Linked DNA regions of Homo sapiens: regions 2, 3 and 4 are each linked to region 1. Evidence: promoter capture Hi-C in 16 types of primary human blood cells and fetal thymus (Javierre and others, 2016). All regions are on one chromosome and are shown on one strand. Each heading gives the region's core, a stretch centred on a gene start or on the middle of the fragment in contact. The rest is flanking DNA. Distances are from core to core; before and after follow the strand shown. Region 1 holds the start of NIT2 (nitrilase family member 2). Region 2 overlaps TFG (trafficking from ER to golgi regulator). Region 3 overlaps ADGRG7 (adhesion G protein-coupled receptor G7). Region 4 overlaps CMSS1 (cms1 ribosomal small subunit homolog).

The links. The method cuts DNA at HindIII sites, captures the fragments that hold promoters and counts their contacts. A CHiCAGO score of 5 or more calls a contact.
Region 2: a fragment that was not itself captured here is called in contact with the fragment with the promoter of NIT2 in region 1 in 1 of 17 cell types (total CD8 T cells); the score reaches 5.3 in total CD8 T cells.
Region 3: a fragment that was not itself captured here is called in contact with the fragment with the promoter of NIT2 in region 1 in 2 of 17 cell types (megakaryocytes and endothelial precursors); the score reaches 8.7 in megakaryocytes.
Region 4: a fragment that was not itself captured here is called in contact with the fragment with the promoter of NIT2 in region 1 in 3 of 17 cell types (monocytes, naive B cells and M0 macrophages); the score reaches 5.5 in monocytes.

The regions. Positions count from the first base shown.
Region 1 is chr3:100,332,760-100,336,006 of GRCh38, reverse strand. NIT2 (nitrilase family member 2) reads right to left here and starts at 1,250. Exons shown (of 10, transcript NM_020202.5): 1 at 1,209-1,250. The coding sequence starts at 1,215. RefSeq lists silencers at 228-522, 921-1,250 and enhancers at 491-570, 691-750, 771-820, 914-1,482. The HindIII fragment of the contact is 2,232 bases long and covers 390-2,621 here.
Region 2 is chr3:100,720,181-100,723,485 of GRCh38, reverse strand. The region is part of intron 3 of TFG (trafficking from ER to golgi regulator); the gene reads right to left. Among named protein-coding and RNA genes, the nearest start is that of TFG, 12 kb to the right of the region's middle. The HindIII fragment of the contact is 1,488 bases long and covers 507-1,994 here.
Region 3 is chr3:100,638,997-100,642,632 of GRCh38, reverse strand. The region is part of intron 6 of ADGRG7 (adhesion G protein-coupled receptor G7); the gene reads right to left. Among named protein-coding and RNA genes, the nearest start is that of ADGRG7, 31 kb to the right of the region's middle. The HindIII fragment of the contact is 1,192 bases long and covers 1,366-2,557 here.
Region 4 is chr3:99,850,956-99,854,207 of GRCh38, reverse strand. All of the region lies in intron 1 of CMSS1 (cms1 ribosomal small subunit homolog), which reads right to left. FILIP1L (filamin A interacting protein 1 like) reads left to right here. Exons shown (of 6, transcript NM_001387850.1): 5 at 3,138-3,252. The region is part of intron 1 of LOC105374010 (a long non-coding RNA gene); the gene reads right to left. Among named protein-coding and RNA genes, the nearest start is that of HP09053, 29 kb to the right of the region's middle. The HindIII fragment of the contact is 1,957 bases long and covers 853-2,809 here.

The DNA of each region.
Region 1 (3,247 bases), core at 1-2,500:
GGCAAACAGATATTTTGAGCTGTTATCAGAACAGCAGATAAATCCACTAAACGTCTCCCCTCCATTTCCCAGCGTTAAGCCATTCTCCCTCCTCAGCTTCCCAAGTAGTTTGGGACTAAAGGGGCGTGCCACCACACCGGGCTAATTTTGTATTTTTTAGTACAGACAAGGTGTCGCCATGTTGCCCAGGCTGGTCTCCAACTCTTGACTCGTGAACTCAAGCGATCCTCGTGCCTCAGCTTCCCAAACTGTTGGGATTACAGGCGTGAGCCACGTGCCGGGCCATGTCTGTGCTTCCGAGGGTGGGAAAGATAAAGCTCACCATGGCTACGCTGATGGCTTCCTCTCCTACACATCTCACCCACAAGGGCGGGGTCCTCAACTAAGCTTAGGACTGCCTATCATTCTGCAAATGACCCACTCTACAGACATGCTGCAGCAGGGAAACCCCGCCACTGGGCAGTTCCTCATGCTGAGGAGGAGACGCCCGTCACTCCATCTCATCTGTAAAGTGAAGACTTTTAAGGCTGCCCTAATATTCATCATAATCTAACAACGAAGACCTTACCAAGGGGCGGAAAAAAAGAATAAAATACTGTGAGCGAAGGAAACAACAAAGGAATAACATTTAAAGCAATGTGCCAGGTCCTTCACACATTAACATCATTGTGTGAGGTATCATTAACATCATTTTACAAATAAAGAAACAGGGGACTTGCAGGGGGAAAGCTGCACAAAGTCACTGAACAAAGTAAGTGACACAGCAAGAATCCAAGTCAAAATCTGGAGCTGGAAAGTGAGTGGGGAGACGAAGAACCGCCTGGGCACCTTTGTGCAGGGCGGGGCTGGAGGAGGTCACGCAACTTGAAAACACCCAAGGGAGTTGGATCCTACCACCGCGGCCCACACCGTGGAGAAATACACGTCCATCAGCCTCTGTCAAGCAGGACGCGGCGGGTGCCGGCGCGGCCGGGTGGCCTGGTGCTTTCTGGGCCTCGCCCGCCACCCCGGAAGCCTGGAATCCCGGGAGTGCGCCCGGCCGCCCGGCCACGCGATCCCGGACCCACGCGGACGCCCGCCTCAGGGAAGGCCGCGCACGGCGGGGACGCGGGGCGGAGGGGCTGAGCCGGCCGAGCCACCGCCGGCGCCGCTCCAAAGCCTCCCCCGCGGCCCGAACTCGAGCTGCAGCGCGCGGCCGCGCCACTTACAGGTCATGACTCTGCAGACAAGCACCACCTGCGGCGCGGACTGAGCGCTGGAGATCCGGCGGACCGCGGCGTCGCTACGGTGGGGCGGGGACCGCGTCAGAGGCCCCGCCCCACCCCTCCTCCTGGCCCCGGCCGGGAGGAGAGAAGGGTCTGCGTTCATTCCAGTGCGCCTGTAACACCAGGACGGACCAACGAGAAATGGTTAATTGCAACACAGTCCGGAAAAAGCATGCCTCGAAAGGCAAAGGGCAAAAGGGAACGGCCTAAGTCGAGGTGGTGTGCTGGTGAATGTCTTAACAACCAGACTTTTCAGGGAGGAAAGCCCTGATTTGTAGCGTTTGCTGATTCTCCGCAAAAGGACTGAACTTCTAGCTGGTTGAATCACCTCTGTGGCCAGGTTAACACCGTATGCTGATGGGCTTGAGCTATTTGAACAAGTCTCTGTGACGGGGACGGAATGACCCTGGTTGGTTTAGGCACGCGAGACGTCTGTAAAATCTGACTACAAGGCTGCTAGGCCAACGGGAAAGATGCTGAGGGTTCAACGCCATGCCCTCAACAAGTCAGTCCTCGAATACATTGTCATCTCTTTGCTAATATCCTTTTTTGTTTGTTTGTTTTAGACAGGGTCTCACTCTGTCATCCAGTCAGGAGTGCAGTGCAGCAGTCTCAGCCCATTGCAGCCTCAACCTCCCGGCTCAAGCGATCCTCCGTCCTCAGCCTCCCAAGTAGCTGGGACTACAGGCACACACCACCACACCTAGCTATTTCTTTTCCTTTTTTCTTTTTCTTTCTTTCTTTCTTTTTTTTTTTTTTTTAAGTTTTTTACTTTTAATAGAGGTGGGGCCTTGCTATTTTGCCCAGGCTGGTCTCAAACTCCTGAGCTCAAGACCCTACTGCCTTAGCCTCCCAAAGTGCTGGAATTATAGGCGTGAGCTGCTGCGCCCAGCCTATAGACTATGATTTTTGCATTTTTATTTATTAGATTGCTTTTTAATTTTCGTGTTTTGTGTTTTTGTGCCTTGTCAGACTTGTGGAACAAAAATCCAAAACTTAACCACCTTTTGGAATGCCCCAGAATAGTTTATACTGAAACAGATCTTGGTTTGTAAAAGAACACTATAAAAACATTTTGGGGGCAACTAGGGAGATTTAAATATGAACGAGATATTTGATGCTTTTCTGAATTATTTTGTGTGCTATAGTGTTGTGCTTGTGACAATTCTTTACTCTTAGAAAATGAGGAAGTATTAGGGATGAACCATCAGAATGTTTGACTTGAAAATCGTCAGCAAAAAGAAAACACATAAGATAAAGCAAATATGGCAAAATGTTAATTATTAAATCTAGGAGGAGGACACAGCTGTTCATGGTACTAGATTAAAACTTTGTAGAAGTTTAAAATTTTAAGCTTTCATAAAAAAAAATTGGGGGGAAATACATAGCAGTTATGGTCTTTCTGCAGCTTAAGAGACTATCTGGACTTGGCTTTGTAGCAGGAAGATCTTTAAAAACCTTTTCATTTCTGCTATGCTTATTAACCTATGAGGTTTCAGGGTCAACCTGTGGTCACTTACAACCTGTTAAAAAAATTCATCTAGATTTCCAAATTTATTGGACTAACATTGTAACTAATAGTGGTCCTAAACCTGGCTGGAAATGTTATTTGAAGTGCTTGTTCAAAATGCAAATTATTTCATTTTTTTAGAAGTGGATTCTTACAGTGTTGCCCAGGCTGGTCTCAAACTCCTAGGCTCAAGTGATCCTCCCACTTTGGCTTCAAAAAGTGCTGGCCTTATAGGCATGAGCCATGGCATCCAGGTGGAGATGCCCAGTAGGCAACCGGACCAAAGCCTCAAGCTCAGAAGATGTCTGGGCTGGAAATTGACTTGGGAGTCACCAGCAGTTTTAACTAAGAGGAAGCTCTGAATTTGGATGAGAACACACAAGCGGAGTATGAAAGGCACACGCAAAAGAAGAAGGGCCTGTGGAGCCTGGGAAGGAGCCATTAGAGGAGAAGGACCAGGCCGGGCGCCACT
Region 2 (3,305 bases), core at 1-2,500, 390 kb before region 1:
GATTTTTTTTAAAATTCCATTAAGAGATTATTTTAACCGATATATGTAGTCAATTTCTGTGTACTGTGATTAGTATTCTGTTCTATCTATTGAGCTTTCTACCTCTTTTATTCCGCCACCACTTTCTACTGAACTGAACAGGTACCCTTGTTTTCTTTTTTTCTCCTTTCCTGACAATGTCTAATTTTTCAATTATAACTCTTACATGTACACCATGCATACTTCTGCATATGTAGTATGCAATTAAAAAAATCTAAAGGTAATTACAATGTTCCTCCCAAATAAGTCCTTAAAATATTTTTATTCCTATCATCCCTTCCTTTCTTACATATTATTGCCCAGTATTTTTGTCCCAAATTGTTTTTATTCCCTAAGACTATTAATTTTGTAACAATCAATGCTCATTAAAACGTACACATAAATTTCATTGGTGCTTCCCAATCCCCTGACAGCCCAAGGTTTAAGAGTTAAGCTTCCTTGACTTTTTCTGTATCAATGGAAAAGCTTTTCTAAAATAGTTTTTGAAAGCATAGCCTACTGACCAAGCAACAGTTTATCTGCTCACATTGCTTCTTGCATCTTTCACCACCTTCTGGACTAAATTTCCTTCTTGATGAAGACCACTGTTAAAAATTATTTTAACAAGGGTCCATGAGTGGTAAATTCTCAGTCTTTCAAAGTATTTTTACTTCTCCTCATTCGTGAAATTTAGTGGAGTATAGGATGCTACTTTTCTAGTTATTTTTCTTTACTGTTTGCAACTGTGATAATACTGTCTTTTAGCCTCTATTATTACTATGAAGAAGTCTACTAACAGTCTAATTGTTTCATATGTGATCAGTCTTATTCTCTCTGGCTACTTTTAAGGTAATCTCTCTGTCTTAAGACATTTTCCAGTTTCATGACAATATGTCCAGTGGGGATTTACTTTTACTTATCCCTGCTCAAGGCTCCCCGTGCCTTCTGAATCTGAGGGTCTATAGCTTTTATATAACTCTGAAAATTTCTTTAGTCATTACCTCAATGTATTTCCACTCTCCCATTCTCTCCTTCTTGAAACTCTGAATAGAAATATTCTGGATGTTCTCATTTTCAACTTCTCTTTTGCCTGTGTTTTTGTGCTTTACTCTGTAATTTCTTTGGATTTCCTTTTCAGTTCACTAATTCTCTTTTTAGCTATGACTAATGTGTTTAACCTATCCACTTAGTATTTAATTTCAATGATTATATTTCTCATTTCCAAGTTACTTTAAGTTCTTTATAAAATCTGTTTATTGTTTTTCCATAATACAATAGCATCTTGCTCTTATGTTCTCGTTTTGTTTTGTTTTTTCTGAGATGGAGTCTCACTCTGTCACCCAGGCTGGAGTGCAGTGGCGCGATCTCGACTCACTGCAACCTCCACCTCCCAGGTTCAAGCAATTCTCCTGCCTCAGCCTCTCAAGTAGCTGGGACTACAGGCACACACCACTACAGCTGGCTAATTTTTTGCATTTCAGTAGAGATAGGGTTTTACCGTGTTGCTCAGGCTGGTCGCGAACTCCTGCACTCAGGCAATCCGCCCGCCTTGGCCTCCCAAAGTGCTGGAATTACAGGCGTGAGCCACCACGGCCGGCTGCTTTTATATTCTTATTCCTTCTTCTATGTCTTAAATAACTTTTAATTTTGTAGACTATCACATATCTTAACTGAAGTTGTTGAAAATCTAATCCTGCTATTAGTTGTGTCCAGTGGTTCTTGCTTACCTGACAGCTTCATGTGTCTTACGGTTTTGTCTGTGAGAAACCTATGTGACCTGGATTGAGAATATACCCCTCAAGAGAGATTTTGGCCTTTCTTCTGAGATTTTTCTAAAATGGTAACATCTGGGCTTGGGAGTTACCAAACTACATGGATAGTTTAAATTTAAACCCAACTCACCTAAGGACCACAATTATGAATCCTGAAGGGAGACTTCCCAAGCCCCTGACGGCCCAAGGTATAAGAGTTAAGCTTCCTTGACTTTCCCTGTATCAAGGTAGACTTTTCTAAAATATTCTTTTTGAAAGCATGGCCTACTGAGGGACTAGGACCAAGGGCCTACACCATGTAGACACCAGATGGCAATTCCTTAAATTATGCAGGCTAAAATCTCTACTATCACCACCAAGAACACCCCAAGTTTCAGCTTTTGGTACATCAGGCCTTTAGTTCCCTCTACTTTTTTGTTCCCTGGATATTTCCCTTACTTTCCTGTGCAAGCTGAGTTACAGAATTCAGAAAACACATTTGTAAGTTTATCTAGCAGATCCTGTTTAAAGTAAGGGTCTTCAGATTATCTAATCTGCTTTATGCCTAGTCAATAGTTAAGTATTTTACATTCAATACTGTAAAAAGATACCTTTATTTTAAATAATTTTAAACAGTTTTTGTTATTAACATTTAAATTCTGATTATTCATATTCATCCTTCCTAGATGGAGATGAAATAGATACAAATTAAATCAATAGACCATGATCATATTTCACACTGAACTCTAAGTTTCATGCAACAAAATTAAAAAAAAATAAAATTAATGCTAAACAAAACAACAAAACAGCCGGAAAAAGTGTACACATTTTATTTTTCACATAATCACACTACCATTTAACTCTGTAATCTTTTCTATCTTGTCCCTTAAGAGTTCTGCCTTGCATATCTATTAAGATCTAAAAGAAAAAATCTAAAAGATTAAAATTAGTCTTCTATTGGTTTTTATCAGAACTATTTTTAATCTTTAAGTACCCCTCGGGAAATACTGTCTAAAGCAAGGGTCCCCAACCCAGTGCTACTCTGTGGCCTGTTAGGAACCAAACCGGGCTGGGCAGCACAGCAGGAGGTTAAGTGGTGGGCTCCGCCTCCTGTCAGTTCAGCAGTGGCATTAGATTCACATAGGAGTGTGAACCCTATTGTGAATTGCACATGCAAAGTGGAAGAGTTTCATCCCCAAACCTTCTCCTGCCCCCTTCCATAGAAGAACTGTCTTACACGAAACCAGTTTCCAGTGCAAAAAGGTTGGCGACTACTGGTTTCAAGTATCAGACTTACATGTTAAGCCCTGATAATAAGTAACAACATACTGTAATGTGAAGGAAGATAATTACAATTTAAAAATTCTAATACAGCTAAATTAAAACTATAATACTGCACCAGGGATACCTAAGTTATACCTGATTTCAAAAAAAACATACTTAACACTCTGTTCTTACTGAATTAAACTTCTATCATTTTCTTAAAAACATACACAGCCATAAGCTTCAAGTAATCTAAAACAACTACCTGAACAC
Region 3 (3,636 bases), core at 712-3,211, 310 kb before region 1:
AAGTCATAAGACCTTTTCTTTTTCTTGTTTCCCATAGAAATATTTGAACTATTTCTGTACTTGACCAAACAAAACCTCTGTATGTAAAATAATCAGTCTAGTTCTTCCAGAAATGAAAGGATTTCATCAAAATGTAGTTGTTCTATATGTCAAATCTTTATTTCTGACACTAAAATATCTTTTCTCTACCTCCAAATGAGATAAAAAGAAAGTTTACAATAATTGAGGATTGCTTTATAAAGAGAACATAATCATCATTCGTATGGAAACATTCAGGTTAGATCCTCTGATTGAAATGTTTTCCTTTTATAAAACCATTTTCAGCAATTCACACATACCCCAGAGCTGCTTTCAATGGGAGGAATACCTAACAAAACTCCCACCTGCTAAGAATATCATTCTACCAAACAGTATCTGTTGAGTATCTATGTAGAGGTCAGCACTCTGTGAAACAGTGGGAGTTCCAGGAGCTGCTCCCTCAGGCATTTGCAGGCTAAAAGGAAAGATGTGGTAGATATACAGGAGGTGTTTTTCATGTTCCCACTTTTACAGGGTTGCTCTAACCATAGCTACTTCTAAGGTCATTTTTTCTTTCTTGTACTTCTTTCCTCCTCTTGTCATAACTGATAAGATTACAGATGGGCACCTGCCCCAGAGAAGCCAATCCAGAAAGTGGTCATCCACCTGGCACAATTGACTAAAATAAGTCATCAGATTCTTGGAAACGGGGTTTTTTTTGATTAGTGCTGTAGTTATATCAGGAAAGTCATAATTTAGAGGAAGCCAGAGAGGTCATTACATCATTGTGAGAAAAACCACAAATTAAAAATAAGAGGCTAATTCTTCCTGTTGAAAATAAGAAAAGACCTGTAAACTCCTCTACTAAGGCTTCCAAAGCTGCCTTGGATCCTCAGTCATCTTCCTGCTCCAGGGTCCATATGGCAATAAAAGAAAATAAAATTTCAAGACCCTCTAAATTTATTATGTCAAAAGGAAGTTAAGCCCTGGAGACTGAATCACGTGTAGCGTGTTTGCAACTTCTGCTTATTAGATTATAGATTAACTCTCTTCCTCATTGTTCTTGTTCTGTAAATGACTAGGAGAGGCCAGACCTTTCCCCTTTCTAATGACTGATCTATGTTACAGATTAATTGCCTCCTTTTTTGTCCTGTACCTAACTCAGACCATTTAGCTCATGATTGTTACGTCTTCAGTGTAATTGTTACACCTTCAGTGTGGAATGTTAAATACACATTTCCCAAAAGAAAAAGACCACCTCAGCTAATCAGATTACTATAACCATGCATTACTATAAGCCTTATATAGAAAGCCTTATATAGAAAGACGTTAAAACTCTCTTAAGCTTCCCTAAACTTTGTTTATATAAATGATCCCAAACTTATATACTTCAAAACATTGACTTCCATTTTTTGGAATTTGTGCTTCCCAGGCAGCTGTCCTTAAACTTTGCACTTGAACGAACTCTCTTTAAACTAGATTCTGACCTTTTTGATTATTTTGGGTTGACAAGGCCCACTATATTATGATCTAGTTCTTGGGCCTCCATGAGACCCCATATGCCTATTTACGATAAATCTCTATTTGTTCAAGATATTTGAGTGGGTGCCAGGCTAGCTGGAACAGAAATAAAAAAAGAAAAGCGAAATGTAAATGTACAGGTGGTCAGTGCTAGGGAGGCATTTTGCATTCCCAAAGTCAGATAAACCAGGGTAATTATGACCTTCAATATGAGATCAAAGGTCTAAGGTTACAGATCAGACTATGCAAGCAATGTCTACAATGGTGAGGTCAGCCCGTCGCGGTGGCTCACGCCTATAACCCCAACAGTCTAGGAGGCCAAAGCAGGTGGATCACCTGAGGTCAGGAGTTCAAGATTAGCCTGATCAACATGGTGAAACCCTGTCTCTACCAAAAATACAAAAATTAGCTGGGCAGGGTTGTGCATGCCTGTAATCCCAACTACTAGGGAGGCTGAGACAGGAGAATTGCTTGAACTTGGGAGGCAGAGGTTGTGGTGAGCTGAGATCTTGCCACTGTACTCCAGCCTGGGTGACAGAGCAAGACTCCGTCTCAAAAAAAGGAAAAAAAAATGGTGAGGTGAAGTCCTAAACTCATTGATTGTACTATGATGCCCTCACCAGCAGAAACCCTACACCTCCAGAGCTCTGCCCACTTTGACAGAGTCAAAGAGTCTTTCTTCTCTGTCACTCTCCTCCCTTTTATTCTCACCCTCTCCTCTTCTCCCTATACTATAGAAAGGCAATTCAGTAGCTGAGAGATACCAAGAGAAAACTGGAATGAAAGAAGGAAGAAGTCAAAGTGAAATGGGTGACTAAGGCCTGATGTCTGTCAGGGAACCCAGCATCTGGCCTAGGTTCAGAAGATAGAGTTTGGAAAGCAAATGTTGTCCTAAACAACAATTAATTTCCTTCTCGTGGAGAGATGACCTCTGTTGGAAGCTCATCAAGAGTATTCTCCTAAAGAGAGCTAAAGGGTTGTTGACCTGACCTTGGGGCTAGAAGCAGAGGAGGAAGCTTTATCTAAGTGAATGAAGGAAGGATCTGAGTCCACAAGAGCTTATGCAAAAGATCACGTTGGTAGAAGATAAACTGATGGAACATTATTAGAAAATAATTGGACTAGAAATTCAGAGTGATAAAAGGAGAAATTGAGCATGCTTACACCATTTTAAGGTTCACTGTATCTTATACCTTAAATTTTTATTTATCCTTTAACCACCTCCTTTAAAACTATTTGGATATTGTGTAAAAATCACACAAAATTGTATTTTCCTTTATATATTAAGTCAGCAAAATTCATAATTATTTATTTTTAGGAAAATGTTCCTATCTTTTTTGTGAACTGTGATGTTCAAATCCCACAACTTCTCTTTTCCCAGCTTTCTCACCAAAAACGTTCATTCCTCCCGTCTAGCAAGAATCTGCAAACACAAAGCTTTCATCTCTGAAGGGAGCCCACTCTGGCTCTTGGCCTCTCTGTTCACTGAACATAGACTCTGGACCCCATGGCCACTTCCTTCTCATATGTCAAGAAAAATGAGAGACATCCACATTCTCCATGAGAAGGGCCCAGACTCCTATTGAAATCTGAAGTCACAAAGTATGCCAGTAAAACTGTTCACTCAACCTCTACAACCACCTCTCAGAATTGTAATCTTTGAATGCTCTATTTTGTGCCTTTGTGCTTTTTCTACTTTGAAAATTCAACGCTAAGTAGGTACTTGTCATAATCATTAGAAAACTAAGAACTACTTCTAGGAATTTCTCCTGAGGAAATAATGGGTCGTGTAAATAAAGATTATGTACCAGAATGCTAATTACTTAGAACATTAAAAGACTTCCAGCAATGTAAATGTCCAGTTGCTGAGCAGAGAACTGGTTCAATAAAAGTTTACACATATAATGCAGTAAACTAAAATTATGATGTAGATGTGTATATATTTATATAAAAGATGTTTACAGAAAAAAGTTTGTAAGGTATTAAGTGACAAAAGCAAGTTATGAATCAATATAGTATGTAATATACATATACATACACACACACACACACACACACACACACACACACACACACACACACAGAAACAGAGGGAAA
Region 4 (3,252 bases), core at 582-3,081, 480 kb after region 1:
AGCAGGCTTAGGAGGCTCAACTCCACACCCTCCTCACCCTATACCTTCTTCAAGACCAAAAACTAGCCTCAAACTTCAACCTTCAAATGCTCCTGGATACAAGGCAAGAAATAACGATTTAGGGTGGACCATTCATCACTATCAGAAGTGCTAATTCCTTCAAATTCAGTAGCATAACCAGCTGTCTTTCCCTCTCTCTGACACACATGTACAACCACACAATGTGTAACAGCATTACACGCAAGCAACTGGCTCTGAAAAGATTCCATCAGGGCCTCCTGCTCTCAGTTCTCACTGGTTCCTTGTCCTGAGCTCCCAAGTTGATGGCTATGGGTATAGTTTTTTCTGCATATAAATTCTTGTTTACCTTCCCGACAGGCTTTACTAGACTAGACAGCTGACTGTCCTATGGTGCGCTCATGAGAGTGGCCCAAGAAAATAGCAGGTTATTGGAAAACAAGTAGTAAGGAAATGCTTAGAGAAAATGCATTCAAATAATCAGACAGAACTTGGGGAACAGATGGGGATGCCAACTAATTTACAAAAACCATGAAAAAGATGCTTATGTTTGCATCATGCTGAAAAATACGCAACATGCCCCAGGCTGAAAAATATGCATCATGCCTACTCCAAAAACACTGAACAAAATGGAAGCAACTGAATTTTTTTCTAAACCTTTTTTGCAGGTTACTGCACTGCACTCACTAATCACCATTCCCTTTTAATACTCTTTTAATTATACTGCAAAACAATCTTCCCTCCCTTATATCCTAAGAAAACACACCCCCTTCTCATAAAAATGACATAGCACATGCTATAATTTAATAAGTTGAAAATAAATATTTAAAAGCTTTTGTGAAACTGTTCTCTAATAAAACTGTAAGAACTGTGGTGTAGAGAGGGGAAAAATATTTCACTGTAATTATGCTCAAGGCATTGTCAAAACCATTACATCGAATGAATTCTAATGCTAAGGCAGGAGAAAGAAGCACTTTGCCAAAGTTTTTTTTAACTATTTCACCACCAAAGCAGTTTACCCATGGACTCTGCCACTGGGTTGAGAAGTCCCATGACCATTTGAGAAGAAGCTGCTATGCTTATCTTTTCAGGCTCTCATGTGTCTCAGATAGGGATGGGGCATGGCCAGAAACCATGGGCAAGCCTTTTGCCAAGACCTTGGATGAGATCATCATCAACGACACCCCAGCATCCTGCCTAGCATCTTCTGAATTTTATAAGCCACAGCCCTTGGGCCAGCCTCCTGTTAAGTTCTCAAAACAGAAAAAACTAAAAGTGGACTCCCACAAAAAAGATGCAGAATTCTTATACAATTATTTTCAACATGTTCCTCCTATGGAATGTAATTACAGAAAATTACAGAAAAGAGCAGATTAGAATCTCAAAAAGAAGGACTCAATTTCCAAGACGATGACCCTAAATTAGTTTCCTTTTAAAATGTTCTCTCAGCCGGCACGGTGGCTCACACCTGTTATCTCAGCACTTTGGGAGGCCGAGGCAGGTGGATCACAAGGTCAGGAGATCGAGACCATCCTGGCCAACATGGTGAAACCCTGTCTCTACTAAAAATACAAAAATTAGCTGGGCGTGGTGGTGCGTGCCTATAATCCCAGCTACTCGGGAGGCTGAGACAGGAGAATTGCTTGAACCAGGGAGTCAGAGGTTGCAGTGAGTCGAGATCGCCCCACTGCACTCCAGCCTGGCGACAGAGTGAGACTCAATTTCAAAAAATAAAATAAAATAAAATAAATAAAAAGTTCTCTCAAATCCTTACACAACTTTCAAAAAGTAAGTTCTGTGATAAGGATGATAGACATGCATTTGATAATTAACTCATTCCTAATAGAAAAGATACATTAAAGTTTTATGAATTCTCTATACCTATCAGAATGTAAGTAGTCATAACTTCATCCATGACAAGTCCTTTGGTTCAATTCCTTAGGGATTCCATTCTATTTTAGCTTCTGTATAACAGTACTGCAAAGCTGTAATTACATCCTCTATAATCAGCCCATTCGCAGTATAATTGAGAGTGCCACAAATTTAAAACTTTGACCTCACTACTTAAGTGGAAGAGATAGTTTATACTACATGTAAAATACCCTCCTGTTATGCTGACAAATTTAAAACATAAAAGAAGAAAATAGCATGTCATAGTAGTCATCATTTAAGAGGGAATTATTATGTTCCTGATAACAGAGTTTCTCTTCTGTCATGTCTAGCATCAGACTCTCATCAATAAGCACTTTCCTACCAAACCGCATGCTCTTCTCAAATGTTATGAAAACACCAAACCCATACAGATGTCTCTCAATTCTCCTCATTTAATTGCTATCCACTATGAGGATAAGATATATGTGAAGTAGTTCCTAGAATAATGTTGTGCTAGTGCAAACCAAGTTTTAATTGGCACAGAGGTCTATCAGTGAAGTGCATAACTTCTAAGCAATGTGACTAAATTTTTTCTTAACTAAGAATCAAGGACTTGAACATCAAACATTAATTGAACACTTTGGTTCAAGCAAGCCATTTGATAAATATAATAACCATATTAATAAAGACAGCAGCAACAACTAATACCAAATGCTTACCATGTGCCAGGACAATGAGAATCTTAGATGAATTACCGCATTTAATTTTCATAAAAAGCCCCTGAAGTAAATAAAATTATTGCCCCCATTTTTCATATGAGGAAATTGAGGCTCAGAGATGTTAAATAACTGCCCAGATCAATTAGTTGGTAAGAGTAGGGTCGGCCTTGAAGCCAGGTCTAACTGCATCATCTCAAGCTTGTGGCTATTTTCACAGCCTTCAGGCCAGACTGCCTACTAATTACATGTTACCCAAGCAATTTAAACTAAATATTCTTGCCCTTACTCTTTTACTAAGGCTCCTGGTGAAATGCAGCTGTTACTGATCAATGGTAGTCAAATAAAAAAGCAAGATAACTTTATCAAGATTTTCCTCTGTCATCAAATTCAGGAACTCTTTTGCATATTGTATATGAACTGACACAGCTCATATAATTACATAATTTCTAAATTACATATATATTTAAGTACATTCGATGAGTTACTAAAGCATCAATCACAAAATAAAATGCACTTTACATTTTTCAGATTAAAGAAGCTAATTGATCAAGAAATCAAGTCTCAGGAGGAGAAGGAGCAAGAAAAGGAGAAAAGGGTCACCACCCTGAAAGAGGAGCTGACCAAGCTGAAGTCTTTTGCTTTG